Linked DNA regions of Homo sapiens: region 2 is linked to region 1. Evidence: promoter capture Hi-C in human tissues and cell types (Jung and others, 2019). All regions are on one chromosome and are shown on one strand. The core of a region is centred on a gene start or on the middle of the fragment in contact, and the rest is flanking DNA. Distances in the headings are between cores, read along the strand shown.

Region 1 (5,725 bases), core at 841-3,340:
AAGGGTACTTAAACCCCAGATTTTCTACACAGGGCACTTGCTTGAGCCTCATCCCGCTTTCTGGAATGTACTTTTGCTTCAATAAATCTGTGCTTTTGTTCCTTCTTTTGTTGCTTTGTGTGTTTTGTCCACCTCTTTGTTCAATATTCCAAGAACCTGGACGACTTGTAGTCAAGATCCTCCCCTGGTAATACTACTGTGTTGCCCAGGCTTATCTTCAACTCCTGGGCTTAAGAGATCCTCCTGCCTTGGCCTCCGAAAGTGTTGGGATTACAGGCGCAAGCCACTGTGCCCAGCATCACAGGGCCTTTTAAAGCTATCAGGATGAAGTGTGGTAAAAAAAGGAGTAAATGGGTTTCATCTCCAGATCCTTGCTGGGCTAGAGCCAAACCTCACAAAGGCTGGTGCTTCCTCCTTTGAGGTGTAAATCCTTGAAAACATTCATTTCTTTTGCATACCACGTTATGAATCCTAAAATAATGTTTTTGCAGCCTGCATTTTTAAAAAGTCAGGTTTATTGGGGTGTGATTTACATATAGTAAGATTCACCTTTCTTTGGTATACAGTTATGAGTTTTCACAAGTGTATATACAGTCTTAGAACCATTACAGATGAGATATACAGCATTTTCCTCACCCTCAAAAGTTCCTGACACTTGTGGTCCAGTCCTACTCCCTCATCCCAACTCCTGACTACCATTGAACTGATTTTTTTCCCTCCGAAGTTCTGCGTTTACCAGAATGGCGCCTTTTGTGTCTGGCTTCTTCCCATGATGCTTTTGAAATTCACCCATGTTGTGCTGCAGGAATTGAAAAAACTGTATTGTGTGGCTGGGCGCGGTGGCTCACACCTGTAATACTAACACTTTGGGAGGCCGAGGTGGGCAGATCACTTGATTTCAGGAGCTCGAAACCAGCCTGGCCAACATGGTGAAACCCCGTCTCTACTAAAAATACAAAAAAGGCCGGGCATGGTGGCTCACGCCTGTAATCCCAGCACTTTGGGAGGCCAAGGTGGGCGGATCACCTGAGGTTGGGAGTTCGAGACCAGCCTGACCAACATGGAGAAACCCCATCTCTATTAAAAATACAAAATTAGCCAGGCATGGTGGCACATGCCTGTAATCTCAGCTACTCGGGAGGCTAAGGCAGAAGAATCGCTTGAACCTGGGAGGCAGAGGTTGCAGTGAGCTGGGATCACGCCAGTGCACTCCAGCCTGGGCGACAAGAGCGAAACTCCGTCTAAAAAAAAAAAAAAAAAAAAAGCCGGGCGCCGGGCGTGGTGGTGGGCGTCTGTAACCCCAGCTACTGGGTGGGGCTGAGGCAGGAGAATCACTTGAACCTGGGAGGCTGAGATGCAGTGAGATGGCGCCACTGCACTTCAGCCTGGGCGACCCAGCAAGACTCTGTCTCAAAAACAAAACAAAACAAAACAAAAATAAAAACTGAAAAATCTCAAACATATAAAACCCAAATAGAATAAATCTCCATGTGCCTGGCACCAAATTTCAACAATTATCAACTCATGGTCAATCTTACTGTATTTACACCCCACCACCTTAATTATGTAGTAGCAAATCGGAGGTATTTCATCTATAAGCATTTTGGTGTGTTTCTCTAAAAATTAAAAACTTTAACTTTTTAAAAAACTTTATTGTTCTTGTTAATGACTGATAATACCATTATCCCACCTAAAATTTTTATTTTCCGGGAAGGCTTTTTTCTGGTGGCTCACACCTGTAATCGCAACACTTTGGGAGGCGGAGGCGGGAGGATCGCTTGAACCCCAGGAGTTCAAGACCAGTGTGGGCAATATAGCAAGTCCTCGTCTCAGGAAAAAAAGGAAAAAAGAAAGTTAGCTTTTTGGCAAAACTACTTCCTAGTAGATGGTGTGTACTTCCTATCACAGCGCATTAAGGGGCACATAATGCCTGGGACTCCGGGATTTCGAGCCCCTGACGCCAGCGGCGCCTCTGTGGCTCTGGGACCTGAGCGCACGCGCCTTAAAGCCACGCCTCCGCATCGGATCCTAGTAAGGGAGCGGGGTTATCATTTTAGCGTAGCGTTGCGCGTGCGCAGAGAGGCCGCCGTAGTTTGCGTTTTCACCTGGTCGCCCGGCGGCCATGGCGGCCGTTCTGAAGCCGGTGCTGCTGGGCCTTCGAGATGCGCCGGTGCACGGCAGCCCCACAGGGCCGGGTGCCTGGACTGCTAGCAAGCTGGGCGGCATTCCGGTGAGGGCGGGTGCCGGAGCTGGGGTCGATGGGTGCTGCTGAAGGGTGCGGAGGGAGTGGGCGAGGTCCTGGGGGGAGTCGGGGTCTGAGCGCCTCCTCTGTCCCCTCAGGATGCTCTGCCCACCGTGGCTGCGCCCAGGCCCGTGTGTCAGCGCTGCGGGCAGCCGCTCGCTCTGGTCGTGCAGGTGTATTGCCCGCTGGAAGGCTCCCCGTTTCACCGTCTGCTGCACGTGTTCGCGTGCGCCTGCCCCGGCTGTAGCACCGGCGGTGCGCGCAGGTAGGCGGGGAAGTCCCAGAGCTGCTCCAGGGGTGTCCTTTCCAGCGGGCTGGGGCGGGCCGGCGGGCTGGAGTCGGGGTGCAGCCCTCACGGCCCTTTGTCTTCACCCCGAAGCTGGAAGGTGTTCCGCTCCCAGTGCCTGCAGGTGCCAGAGAGAGAGGCGCAGGACGCTCAGGTAAAGGTTGTGATTGGCATGTTATTGTTTTTCTGTCATTTGAGGATATTTTCCAGAGAATAGTTTGGGGCAGACTTTAAAGCCGTGTTCTTTGAAGTACACTGGAGTGTTTTTTGCTTTTCTGAAGAACCATAAAATGCTATTTTCGTAAAGTTTTTTTTTTTTTTTTTTTTTGAGACGGAGTTTCGCTCTGTCGCCCAGGCTGGAGTGCAATGGCGCGATCTCGGCTCACCGCAACCTCCGCCTCCCAGGTTCAAGCGATTCTCCTGCCTCAGCCTCCCTAGTAGCTGGGATTACAGGCATATGCCACCACGCCCGGCTAATTTTGTATTTTTAATAGAGACGGGGTTTCGCCATGGTGGTCAGGCTGGTCTCGAACTGCCGACCTCAGGTGATCCACCCGCCTCGGCCTCCCAAAGTGCTGGGATTACAGGCATGAGCCACCGCGCCCGGCCTTTCTTAAGGTTTTGTGAGAGTTTTTTTTTTCTTCTATTTTACTTTATTTTTATTTTCTAACTCCTTTGTTAAAAGGAGATGGAGGCCCAGCATGGTGGCTCACGCCTGTGATCCCACCGTTTTTTGAGAGGCTGAAGTGGGAGGATTGCTTGAGCTCAGAAGTTGGAGACCAGGCTGGGCGCGGTGGCTTACGCCTGTAATCCCAGCACTTTGGGAGGCCGAGGCGGGCGGATCTCCTGAGGTCAGAAGTTCGAGACCAGCCTGGCCAACATGGCGAAACCCCGTCTCTATTAAAAACAAAAACAAAAAATTAGCCGGGCATGGTGGCAGACACCTGTAATCCCAGCTACAAGGGAGGTTGAGGCAGGAGAATCGCTTGAACCCGGGAGACAGAGATTGCAGTGAGCTGAGATCATGCCACTGCACTCCAGCGTGGGTGACAGACTCCGTAAAAACAAAACAAAACAAAACAAAAGAAAAAAAAAACGTTGGGAGAGCAGTCTGGGCAACATAGCAAAACATCGTCTCTATAAAAAGTAAACAAATTAGCCAGGCATGATGGCCACGCAACTGTAGTGCCAGCTACTCAGGAGGCTGAGGTAGGAGGATTGCTTGAGTCTAGGAGGTTGAGGCTGCAGTGACCTACACTTGTGCCACTGCACTCCGGCCTGGGCCACAAAGCCAGACCCTGTCCCCTGCCAAAAAAACAAAAGGGAGATGGAGACTTCCTCCTGGATTTCTTCAACTTTTTTTTTTAACTGTAAATTGACAGTTTATAATAATGTATAAATTTATGAGGTATAAAGTGATGGCTATGATTCATGAATATCATGTGGAATAATTAAATGAAGCTAGTTAATGCATTCATCACCTCAAATACTTAACATCTTGTGAGAACATTTGAAATTTCCTCTAGCAATTTGGAGATACACAATACTCTTATTTTTTTTTTTTTTTGAGACGGAGTCTTGCTCTGTTGCCCAGGCTGGAGTGCAGTGGCGCCGTCTCTGCTCACTGCAAGCTCCACCTCCTGGGTTCACACCATTCTGCCTCAGCCTCCAGAGTAGCTGGGACCACAGGCGCCCGCCACCACGGCCAGCTAATTTTTTCATTTTTTTAAATTTTTAGTAGAGACAGGGTTTCACCATGTTAGCCAGGATGGTATTGATCTCGTGACCTTGTCATCCACCCACCTCGGCCTCCCAAAGTGCTGGGATTACAGGCTTGAGCCCCTGTGCCCAGCCACAATACTCTATTATTAACTATATTCATGCTGTGCAGTAGAACTTAAAAAAAACCCACATTCCTCCTGAATAACTGAGGTTTTGTATTCTTTGACCGTCATCTCCTTATTCTTCCCGCTCCAGGTTTCTTTCTTCCTTTTTTTTTTTTTTTTTTTTTTTGAGACCGAGTTTCGCTCTTGTTGCCCATGCTGGAGTGCAATGGCACAATCTCAGCTCACTGCAACCTCCACCTCCCGGATGCAAGCGCTTATCCTGCCTGCCTCAGCCTCCCTAGTAGCTGGGATTACAGGCACTCGCCACCACGCCCAGCTAATTTTTATATTTTTAGTAGAGAAAGGGTTTCACCATGTTGGCCAGGCTGGTCTTGAACTCCTGACCTCAGGCAACCCACCCGCCTCGGCCTCCCAAAGTGCTGGGATTACAGGCGTGAGCCACCATGCCCGGCTCACTCCAGATTTTTTTTTTTCTTTGAGATGGAGTTTCGCTTTGTTGCCAGGCCGGAGTGCAGTAGCACAATCTTGGCTCACTGCAGCCTCCGCCTCCCAGGTTCGAGCAATTCTCCTGCCTCAGCCTCCTGAGTACCTGGGACTACAGGCACACACCACCATGCCCAGCTAATTTTTGTATTTTTAGTAGAGATGGGGTTTCACCGTGTAGCCAGGATGGTGTCGATCTCTTTACCTCGTGATCCACCCGCCTTGGCTTCCTGAGGTGCTGGGATTACAGGCGTGAGCCACCACACCTGGCCACTCCAGATTTCTTTAACCACCACTCTACTCTCTACTTCTTTGAGGTTGTTTTAGATTCCACATATAAGTGAATACATGCAGCATTTGTCTTTGTGTCTGGCTTATTTCCCTTAGCAAAATGTTCTCCAGTTCCATCCATGTTGTCACAAATGACAGAATTTCCTTTTTTTTTTTAAGGGTGAAAAATATTCCATTGTATATATAGTAGTTTTTTTAAACTTACACTGAAGGTCTTGAGACACACAGTTTACTGATTTTCCTGTTTGGGAATATATATGGGTGTGTACATATATGTGGTTGTATGTGATAATGTATACGTGTCTTTATAGTAAATATACTTTATGAGAGCTATATATGTATTAACACATTTCATAAGATGAAATCTGAATTTATTGAAAAGGCAGGCAAGTTGGTAGCTGCAGAACACAATTTAGCCTCCCTTTGACTGTAAATGTGTCTTTATATATACACTGAGTTTGTTTGTTTGTTTGTTTGTTTTTTGAGATGGGGTTGCATTCTGGTCACCCAGGCTGGAGTGCAGTGGCATGATCTCTGCCTCTTGGGCCCAAGCCATTCTCCCACGTCAGCCTCCTG
Region 2 (5,725 bases), core at 852-3,351, 210 kb before region 1:
TCCCTGTCCCCATCTTAGCAAGTTGAAGATGCTAGTCAAAATTTCTCTGGGGGGCAGGAGAGGGCAGAGGATACTTACGTATGGATTCTGGGGTTGGTCTTTCAGTTTCAACTAACTCATTCTGTACCTGAATGATACTATTTAATAAAATTTCGTGGTATGAGTTTGAGAACTTGTCATGATTTTAGGGATATTTTAACTTCCTTTTTGTTTCTTTCCTTTAGTTTTAGGGAAGGATCTTCTGCCAAACTACCTGTGCCACTGTCTTTCCTGGAAGTCTCATAAGTACTAGAAAGAACTTTTAGAATAAGAGTGTAGGACATTATTTACACTGAAATAACATTCTTTTTGTTGTTTTTTTTTTTTTTTTTTTTTTTGGAGTCAGATTGTCATTCTGTCACCCAGGCTGGAGTGCAGGAGCGCCATCTTGGCTCACTGCAACTTCTGCCTCTTGAGTTCAGCCAATCCTCCCGCCTCAGCCACCTGAGCAGCTAGGACTACAGGTGCATGCCAACATGCCCAGCTAATGATTTTTTGTATTTTTAGTAGAGATGGGGTTTCACCATTTTGTTGAGGCCGGTGTCAAACTCCTGACCTCAAGTGATCTGCCCACCTTGGCCTCCCAAAGTGCTGGGATTGCAGGCATGAGGCGCTGCATCAGTTCTGCAAAAAAAAAAAAAAAAAAAAAAAAAAAAAAAAAAAGCGTATGCATTAAAAATACTAAGGGGGCCAGGCGCGGTAGCTCACGCCTGTGATGCCAGCACTTTGGGAAGCCGAAGCGGATGGATCACTTGAGGTCAGGAGTTCTAGACCAGTCTGGCCAACATAGTGAAACCCCATCTCCGCTAAAAAAAAATACAAAAATTAGCTGCGCATGGTGGCACACGCCTGTAATCCCAGCTGCTCAGGAGGCTGAGGCAGGAGAGTCGCTTGAACCCAAGAGGCAGAGGTTACAGTGAGCCAAGATTGCGTCACTGCACTCCAGCTGGGGCAACAGAATGAAACTCCATCTCAAAAAAAAAGAAAAAAAATAGAAATGTTAAGGGGTTTACTTCCTTTAGGGTACTCTTTAAATGAAATATGATGTTTCATATTCTCTATTTGGAACTTCTGTATGGATGCAGACATTTTCAGAAATCTCCCAGGACAATGAACCTGAAACTTATGTATTTATAAGAAACTTGGGGATTTGGTTATTTTATTTACTTATTTTGAAATAGGGTCTTGCTGTGTCACCCAGGCTGCAGTGCAGCCACGCTTCAGTACAGCCTCAATCTCCCAGGCTCAAGCGATCCTCATACCTCAGCCTCCTTATAGCTGGGACTACAGGCATGCACTACCACACCTGGCTAATTTTTAAAAATGTTTATTTTTTTGTAGAGACAGAACATCACTGTGTTGCTAGGGCTGGTCTCAAACTCCTGGGCTCAAGCAGTCCTCCCACCTTGGCCTCCCATAGTGCTGGGATTACAGGCATGAGCCACTGTGCCTAGCCAGAAATTGGCTTAAAATGCAGATTTTTGGACCCTGTCCCCAGCAAAAAGATTCGGTAGAAATCTTTATTCGTAGCCAGTTTACTGTGTTGCAGGTGGTCCCCAGTTTAACTTTGAGTAATGCTGTCTTCATTGTTAAAATAATCAGATTTAATTATATGGTAGATATTTTAGGTAACTAGGGTATTTCAAGCTGTCCCATGGGGCTGAGTAGCTGGCAGCTGCTTGACTTGGCTTCTAGAGGACTTACTGCTCAGCAAGGTAAATGTTATTAATACCTTCATTGCTCTCTGTGTCCCAAAGGTCAATACCCAAACTTTGAGATTTTGTAGACTGGAGGAATCTTTGTCTCCCACTCCTTCCCCAAGAAAGACATGGGTTGCTAATTTTTATTTTGTCGAATGAGGACATTAAAAATAAGTTAACCGTGAGCCAGGCACAGTGGCTTAGGCCTTTCATCCCAGCACATTGAGAGGCTAAAGCAGGAAGATCACTTGAGGCCAGGAGTTCAAGACCAGCCTGTGCAAAATAGCAAGACCTCATCTCTACTAAAAAATAAAAAAAGTTAGCTGGGCTTAGTGGCACATGCCTGTGGTCCCAGCTACGTGGGAGGTTGAGATAGAAGGATCGCCTGAGCCCGGGAAGCTGAGGCTGCAGGAAGCCATGACCACACCACTGCACTCCAGCCTAGGGGACAGAGACCCAGTCTCATCAATAAATAAATAATGAAAGGACATTTTAACACCCCACTACAACCACTAAAGATACAAATAAATAAAAATATAAGAGGAACACAACCTCATAATACAGATAGTCTTTTATATTGCATATATTTAACTTCGGGCAAAAGCCACTCTATTTTCCTCTTTAAAAAAACTTTTTTAGCTATAGATTAATGAATACTTTCTCAGACATTTCAGAACTACTGCTTAGTACTTGAAATACAACATTTAGAATCTGGGGTACTACCTGAATGTGATGAGTAGTCACACATCTCATATCCTTTGTTTTCTTGCCAGTTCGATCCTTTGGTACAGAAGACAGACCGACAGATCGTCCAATACCACCTCGAGATGAAGTCTTTGAATACATTATATTCCGTGGGAGTGACATTAAAGACCTTACTGTTTGTGAGCCACCAAAACCACAGTGTTCTTTGCCTCAAGACCCAGCTATTGTTCAGGTAACTGATGGTAAATTTGTCTTGGAGTACAGGTAAACTCCGCACAGGGTTAGCCTTGGCTTTTTTCTCTCTAGTTGAATGTTCATGTAGCTTATCATTTCCAAGTTACTGGGATACCTGAAATTACTGGATAATGTTCTCATCTAGGTTTTTCTCTTTGTATCATAAATTAGAACTAAGGTAAGAAACAGCTGAGGAATTTATTATGAAATATTTTCTAATTTCAACAACAATTACCATAGCTAACATTGAAGGCTACTCTGTAGAAGTGCTGTGCATATAAGATACCCTCTGAGGTTGGTACTATAATTATTCTCACTTTTAACAAGTGAGGAAGTTCAGATGGAGCCACAATTTGAACAGATCCAGGCAGCCTGCTTCAGAATCTAGGATCCGTGCTACCATGCTATTGAGATATGGTTTATATTGCAAACCAAGGCAATAACAGCTACTCTTAGGTAAGATTATTAGGCTTAATGGGGAAAAAAAAGCAAAATCACATTGTTCTGCATATGTTATAATATGCAGTGTTGGTTTTTGTTTTGTTTTTCTTTTTCTTTTTTTTTTTTTTTGACAGAGTCGTTGGAGTACAGTGGCGTGAACTCGGCTCACTACAACCTCCGCCTCCCAGGTTCAAGTGATTCTTCTGCCTCAGCCTCCTGAGTAGCTGGGATTACAGGCATGCACCACCACACCCGGCTAATTCTTGTATTTTTAGTAGAGATGAGGTTTCACCATGTTGGCCAGCCTGGTCTCAAACTACTGACCTCAGGTGATCCGCCCACCTCAGCCTCCCAAAGTGCTGGGATTACAGGCATGAGCCACTGTGCCTGGCCTGCAATGTTATATAATAAGAAAACACAAACATCAATGTATTTTAACATATTTAGATCAGCTCTTAAATCTCCCAATTTAAGCTTTTTAATAAGGAATTGTAAATTTTGTTGCAGCATAAGCTGGAGAAATTCTCTACTCTCATCTACCCCTACCCTTGTTAAGTCTTATTTTGGTGAAAGGAAGCCTGAAGTGGAAATGTGAATCTCTTTAAATGGAGAAGGAAGAGACACATTCTTAATAGAGATAGCTCCCTACACCAAACACTGGAGTTACCTTACTGTCTCTTTTATATGGCTTTTGATAATTCTCCAGGAAACCAGTTATTTGAGTAATCGGTTTTATGGAAGGAGAAAAACTAAGAGAGCGCATATGAAAATGGTGTTGAATAACTTCTTCCAATCATCATAAACTTCTACTTGATCTCCTTATTCATTCATTCAGTAGTATTTACAGAGTATCTGGCATGTGCTTAACACTAGTGGTGAACACACAGAAAAGGTCCTGCCATCAGTGAGTGTATGTCCTGGTAGCCTTTAATACACTTCATGTTTATATTATGAAACAGTTTATAGTAAGATAATATATGAAGTATACATGTATTAATATATGTTATATATTTTATATGCTTTAGGTTTAAGTTAAAGTTTTTATAAAATGTTCCTCAGCTTAATGTAACTATAAGTAAAAATGTAAATGGTTTTATGTGGGATATGTTTGTTTCTACGTCTGTGAATTTAATAGTAGGCCTCAAATGATTGAAAATAAGAGTAAAATCATACGTGAGATTTATATCAACATCAGACTAAAACTCATTATTACTAAGTGTGATTTTTCTCATATTTTTCTTTAAGCAAAGTTACTTTACTTAAGTAACTTTAATTCTTTCCTCAATCTATAAAACTCTTAATTCAAATGGGGAGTTTATTGTAGAAAAAAGTATTTGTAAGTCACATTGAGTATAATTGGCACATTATAGACAGATACTGAAATCAAAAGGTTGTTTGGCTATTTTAATATTAAGTGCATATTGTAATTCATTTTATATCTAGTAGTTATAATTTAATAGTTTTCTTAAAAGTAAAAATCTGGAATTTTTTTTTTCGTTATATACATGTTGCTTAGAGCTTGGAAACATAACTCATGATTTTCCTTCAGTCCTCACTAGGCTCATCGACTTCTTCATTCCAGTCCATGGGTTCTTATGGACCTTTCGGCAGGATGCCCACATACAGTCAGTTCAGTCCGAGTTCCTTAGTTGGGCAGCAGTTTGGTGCTGTTGGTGTTGGTATGTTTTCTTTTTCTTTTCTTTTTTTGTTTTTGTATTCTTCCTTTCTTTACCACAAAGGTATAGAAACTCAACACCAACTATTAGAAATGTTGTTTGATGTTCCTTTTGTAACTTTGTTTTATGGTATTCAGAACACATTTTGATGATATCTTAAAGCCTTTATTGATATTAGTGGGTTTTTAAAAGTCAGCTTTCACAGAGTAACATTTTTTTTTACTAGGTAAAAAAAAAATGGATATACTAGGTATATCCAATATCTACCAAATCTACCAAATTGGATATACTAGGTATATCCAATATCTACCAAATCTTATTGGTAATTGGTTTTGTTTTGTTTTTTTTAAAGACAAAGTCTCACTCTGTCACTCAGGCTGGAGTCCAGTGGCACTATCTTGGCTCACTACAACTTCCACCTCGTGGGTTTAAGCAATTCTCGTGCCTCAGCCTCCCAGATAGCTGAGATTACGATATGCATCACCACACCCAGCTAATTTTTGTATTTTCAGTAGAGGTGGAGTTTCACTGTGTTGGCCAGGCAGGTCTTGAACTCCTGACCTCAGGTGATCCACCTGCTTCGGCCTCCCAAAGTGCTAGGATTACAGGTGTGAGCCACTGCGCCTGGCCTGGATTTTAATTAATAAATTTTTCTTTTTAATTTCTTTTTCTTTTTTTTTTTTTTTTTTTTTTTCTGAGGCAGAGTCTTGCTCTGTTGCCCAGGCTAGAGTGCAGTGGCATGATCTCCGCTCACTGCAACCTCCACCTCCCAGGCTTAAGCAGTGCTCCTGCCTCAGCCTCCTGAGTAGCTGGGATTACAGGTGTGCGCCACCACTCCCAGCCAATTTTTTTGTATTTTTAGTAGAGATGGGGTTTCACCATGTTGGCCAAGCTGGTCTCGAACTCCTGACCTCAAGTGATCCACCCACC

The links. The method cuts DNA at HindIII sites, captures the fragments that hold promoters and counts their contacts. A contact is called where the count stands out against the background at its distance.
Region 2: a contact is called between a fragment that was not itself captured here and the fragment with the promoter of PDCD2L in region 1, in 1 of the 25 tissues and cell types used here (mesendoderm cells).

What each region holds. Positions count from the first base shown.
Region 1 is chr19:34,402,309-34,408,033 of GRCh38, forward strand. PDCD2L (programmed cell death 2 like) reads left to right here and starts at 2,091. Exons shown (of 7, transcript NM_032346.2): 1 at 2,091-2,230; 2 at 2,341-2,507; 3 at 2,622-2,682. The coding sequence starts at 2,123. GPI (glucose-6-phosphate isomerase) reads left to right here. Exons shown (of 18, transcript NM_000175.5): 18 at 1-105. The HindIII fragment of the contact is 14,760 bases long and covers 721-5,725 here.
Region 2 is chr19:34,191,966-34,197,690 of GRCh38, forward strand. It overlaps LSM14A (LSM14A mRNA processing body assembly factor), which reads left to right. Exons shown (of 10, transcript NM_015578.4): 2 at 2,513-2,676; 3 at 4,669-4,798. Among named protein-coding and RNA genes, the nearest start is that of LSM14A, 22 kb to the left of the region's middle. The HindIII fragment of the contact is 5,517 bases long and covers 1-4,860 here.